2 separate regions of the Homo sapiens genome follow, and region 2 is linked to region 1. Evidence: promoter capture Hi-C in human tissues and cell types (Jung and others, 2019). All regions are on one chromosome and are shown on one strand. The core of a region is centred on a gene start or on the middle of the fragment in contact, and the rest is flanking DNA. Distances in the headings are between cores, read along the strand shown.

What was found. Contacts are between HindIII fragments. The study calls those that stand out against the background at their distance.
Region 2: a contact is called between a fragment that was not itself captured here and the fragment with the promoter of RD3 in region 1, in 4 of the 25 tissues and cell types used here (mesenchymal stem cells, ovary, pancreas and 1 more).

What each region holds. Positions count from the first base shown.
Region 1 is chr1:211,490,863-211,493,469 of GRCh38, forward strand. RD3 (RD3 regulator of GUCY2D) reads right to left here and starts at 1,300. Exons shown (of 3, transcript NM_001164688.2): 1 at 906-1,300. The HindIII fragment of the contact is 12,360 bases long and covers 1-2,607 here.
Region 2 is chr1:211,437,525-211,440,131 of GRCh38, forward strand. No RefSeq gene overlaps it. Among named protein-coding and RNA genes, the nearest start is that of RD3, 53 kb to the right of the region's middle. RefSeq lists a silencer at 2,021-2,244. The HindIII fragment of the contact is 6,200 bases long and covers 1-2,607 here.

The sequences.
Region 1 (2,607 bases), core at 50-2,549:
ACAAGGGCCCATCACCATGGCATCTAGCAAACACGTTTCTCACGCTTTGGGTTGTATTTATCTCTTCCCCACCTAGCTATGAATTCTGCAAGGGCGAGAGGAATGTGGGTTGAATCTGCTGCACATGGTAGCACTTGATAAGCGGTTCCTGAATGAATGAGTGAATGGCAGCCAGTCCTTCCCATTCTGAGGCAGAGGTGCAGCCAGGAGAGGGCGTGTACACAGGTCTGACTGACCACAGTGGGAGGGGACTGACCCTCATCCCTTGGTCGCAGCTGGACTTTCCTTCTAGGCCCGATCTCCCTGGCGCCCCACCCTGCACCCATCTGCCTGGGCCCACTCTCCTGGGCATGTTATCAGGGATGCACAGACTGCTCCATGTTCGAGGGGACTGAGGCACATCCATCACCCTCGTGCCCTGGGTGCTGCTGCATCCCCAGAGCCTGACTCTGTGCCTTGGACTTAGTAGATGCTCGAATCACAGTTCGCAAACCCATGCAAGAGTCTCTGATTTGGGTTTCGCTTTCCTTCCCCCTGCCTGTGTCCACTCTATAAAGGCAGAAAGGAACCTGCTGGAGCTGGGTCCTCCCCGAGAGGCTTGCAGTTCCAGAACAGGCAAAAACAATGGCTTCCCACAGGTTTACAAAACAAGGAGCAGGCTATAGCCCCGAGGAAGCTGCAGGACCCTCATCGGTTCCAACTCCTGTGGAACTGATGAGGACTAAAGGGGCCTTCCTGTGGCCATCTGGGTCCCGGAGGTGGGCGGCTTTCTAGGCTCCCCAGCCTGCCACACCCCTTGAGGCCACCCCACCCAGCTTCAAGCCTCAGCCCTAACTTCCAAAGGTGCAGCTGTGCCAGGGTGCGGGTGGGGAAGACACTGTCTCCTGGGGAGACCTCCATCTTACCTCTGAGGTCAGCCTCTGCTCAGGTGCAGCGTCACAGCAGGGGGCCTGCGTTCTGCTTCCCAGTCTGGGAGAAGAGAGTGTCTGGATATTTTCAGGAAAAAAAAAGAAAGTTGAGCAGCCACAGCAGGGCAGGGCAGTCTACATCCTCAAGTCTCCCTCAGCTTCTCTGCTGCTGCCGGCTGGCCTCAAATTTTGCCTCTCTTTGGTTCTCTGAGAAGTTTTACCAAGAGAAGAGACAGGAGGAGAGATCCAGCCTGGACTATTGTTTGTGGGGTGTGTAGGTGTGTGTGTGTGTGTGTGTGTGTGTGTGTGTGTGTGTGTGTGTATGCGTGTATGTATCCCGCGAGGCTGGAGCCACAGCTTCCCTGATGAACCATGGAGGCGGGCCAGCTCCTGAGCTGCGGTTGCCCTGGAGACCCACCTAAGCCTCTTTGCCTGGAGCAGCATTATCTGTAGAGGGAGTGGCTGATCTGACACAAAAGCCTGAGGCGACCCAGGCCCAGGCAGTGAGGGAGCACTTGTGTCCAGATGGCATTCTGTCCGCTTCCTCCTCCAGCCGGTGCTCAGTGTGGCACAAACTGGGCAAGACCATTCTCACCCAACCCTCTGCTGAGCCCTAGGTGTACCTGCTGTTGGCAAATGTTTCCAGCTGCCTGGTGGGTGGCTCCTGGATGGAGATCCCCTCTTTCTATCAGCTCCCTCCTACAGGGAAGGGGTGATTCTGGGTGCTGAGGACAGGGACCTGTGAAGATACATCTCCGCCTTTGCCCCACCACATCCCTTGCCTGTCTTCCTCTCTGCTTATCTAAATTATTTCCTTCCCTCAAGGCAAGCTCAAGAGCAGACAGTTCTGACTTTCAGAAGGAGGGGCTGTCCAGGGAGAAGAGGAACATGGAACAGAAAGCATTGACGTTGAGGTATTTGAGATAACATTTGGGGATAGCAGAAGCATCCTGTTGCTGTTCTGCAGCATCCCACACTCATGTCTGGGCCTCCTTCCTGTCTCTGCTCTCTGGTCACGCTGTCACTTGTAGACTGTTCTGCCTAGAAGCCATGTGTGGGCCAGCTTGCACCTAACAGACATTAGGTAGCACTAAAACAGATGCACACTGCCCTGTGAGGGGCATGGGAATACTGTAATGGGCATGAAGCTGCATTATAATAGATCTTAGGTAATCCTGTGCTGGGTGATAGCGTGACTTTTGCACACATCTGGTTTTGATTGTGTTGGAAATAAAGCAGAAAGTACAACCAAGAATAAATTAAACAATGGCTGATGAAATGGACTCAGGTTGCCCACCTGCCTGCCTGCATGATTTCGTCCCTGGGTGATTTGTCACTTCGTGCTTGCTCTGTGGCTGGTTCCACTCAGCTGGTTCCATCCGCCTTCCCTCTTCATCCATCAAGCAGGCAAGATTCTTGAGTCAGGAGTTGGATCATATACTTCTCTTGACCAGTTCACAGCACGACAGCCCCAAAGATTGAGTGGGTCACTTGGGGATGGAAGATCCCCACATTTGAGGGAGCTGAAGCTGACTTCCTCTGACCCACAGTTCCCAGGCGGCCTCCACCTCAGGGCCAGCTAAGGCCAGAGTCACCCAAAGCAGGTAACTGGGAGTCCCCACCTCTGAGCACCCCACCACTATCCTGGCACTTTCCCAAGGGGCGTGGCTTGGAGGTCCAAGGGCAGAAATTCCCAGGC
Region 2 (2,607 bases), core at 49-2,548, 53 kb before region 1:
TTAGAAACCTCTCCCTGAGATCTGAAATATCACGGTTGAATTTCTGATGTTCCTGGATCCAAATGCCTAGTTTTTAGTTAAAGATAAAACTCAAATTGATAATATTTCCTTGTTAGCATAGGTACAAATTCTATGGAGACATTGATTAAAATACAAGACTAGCCAGGTAAAGCGGCTCATGGTTGTAATCCTAGCTCTTTGGGAGGCTGAGGTGGGAGGGTCACTTGAGGCCAGGAGTTCATGACAAGCCCGGGCAACATAGTGCAACCCTGTCTCTACAAAAATAAAATTTAAAAATTAGCTGGGCATAGTGGCACACACCTGTAGTCCGAGCTACTGGGGAGGCTGAGGCAGTAGGATCACTTGATCCCAGGAGTTTGAGGCAGCAGTGAGTGACCCATGATCATGCCATTGCACTCCAGCCTGGATGACAGTCAGATCCTGTCTCTAAAAAAATAATAAAGGCCAGGTGTGGTGGCTCATGCCTGTAATCCTAGCACTTTGGGAGGCCAAGGCAAGCAGATCAACTGAGGTCAGGAGTTCAAGAGCAGCCTGGCCAACATGGTGAAACCCCATCTCTACTAAAAATACAAAAATTAGCCGGATGTGGTGGCAGGCGCTTGTAATCCCAGCTACCTGGGAGGCTGAGGCAGGAGATTCACTGGAACCCGGGAGGCGGAGGCTGCAGTGAGCCGATATTGAGCCACTGCATTCCAGCCTGAACAACAGAGTGAGACTCTTGTCTCTAAATAAATAAATAAAACTACAAAACTAAATTACTGTATTCTTCAACTAATGGGACACAATATTCTTTTTTTTCTTTTTTGAGACAGAGTCTCACTCTGTCGCCCAGGCTGGAGTGCAGTGGCATGATCTCAGCTCACTGCAACCTCCACTTCCAGGGTTCAAGCTATTCTCCTGCCTCAGCCTCCAAAGTAGCTGGGATTACAGGCACGTGCCAACACGCCTGGCTAATTTTTGTATTCTTAGTAGAGATGGGGTTTCACCGTGTTGGCCAGGCTGGTCTTGAACTCCTGGCTTCGAACTCCTGGCCTCAAGTGATCCACCTGCCTCTGCCTCCCAAAGTGCTGGGATTACAGGCGTGAGCCACTGCGCCCAGCCAGGACACAATACTCTTGCATAAAGAAACGAAACTCTGGACAGTTCCGTTGTCGTGGGCTTTCTTATTTTCCTGCTTTGGCAATTGCTAACCAGAAAACTAGAAACCAACACAGAAAGAGGAGAAAGAGTATTTGGAGTGTCTGTATGAGTGTAAAATGTGATTGGGATTGTGGAAATACATAGATGGAGAGTTACTTATACTCCCAACCCCTCTGTATTCCAGGATGTTCACATATATGTCATGGACTAGGAAATTGGCTGCTGTGGTCTAAATGTACCCCCCAAAATTCATATATTGAAACATAATTGCCAATATGCTACAATTAAGAGGTGGGGTCTTTAGAAAGTAATTAAGTCATGAGGGCAGAGCTCTTATGAATGGGATTAATGACCTTACAAAAGGTGCAAGGAAGCTGCTTGTTCCTTTTCACTCTTTCTACCATGTTAATATGCACCAAGAAAGCACCATTTTGGAAGCAGGGAGTGACGCTGAACCTGCTGGCGCTGATCTTGGATTTTCCAACCTCCAGAACTGTGAGAAATAAATTTCTGTTGTTTATAAATTACCCACTCTAAGATATTTTGTTATAGTAGCAGGAATGGACTGAGACACTGGCATATTCCATAATTTGTAGATTTTATATTTTTATTGCATACAAATTGTGCTATAAATATAAATACATTATAGAAGTGACCATTTTAAAAAGACATCCCATATATTAGATTTTAAAATGCTTTGTGTGGAATTTTACAAAAAGTATAGTGAAGCACTCTTTACCTCTCAAGTATGTCACTGATAAGGGTTTATTGATATTATCATCTCTATTTTATTTATTTTGAGACAGAGTCTTGCTTTGTTGCTCAGGCTGGAGTGCAGTGGTGTGATCTCAGCTCACCACAACATCGCCTCCTGGGTTCAAGCGATTCTCCTGCCTCAGCCACCCGGTTAGCTGGGACTACAGGCACGCACCACTATGCCCAGCTAAATTTTTTGTATTTTTAGTAGAGATGGGGTTTCACCATGTTGGCCAGGCTGGTCTTGAACTCCAGGCCTCAAAGGCACCTCCTGGGTTGAAGTGATTCTTCTCCCTCAGCCTCCCAAGTAGCTGGGAGGCCACCACACCCGGCTAATTTTTGTATTTTTAGTAGAGACAGGGTTTTGCCATGCTGGCCAGACTGGTCTCGAACTCCTGGCCTCAAGTGATCTGCCTGCCTTGGCCGCCCAAAGTGTGAACCACTGCGCCCAGCTAGTGCTTCTCAAAATTCAATGTAAATATTAATCATCTAGTGTGGGGGTTCCCACTCCCTGGGGCACAGATTGGTACTGGTCTGTGGCCTGTTAGGAACCTGGCTGCACAGCAGGAGGTGACCAGCGGGCAAGTGAGTGAAGATTCATCTACATTTACAGCCACTCCCCATCACTCTCATTACAGCCTGAGCTCTGCCTCTTGTCACATCATCAGCAGCATTAGATTCTCATAGAAG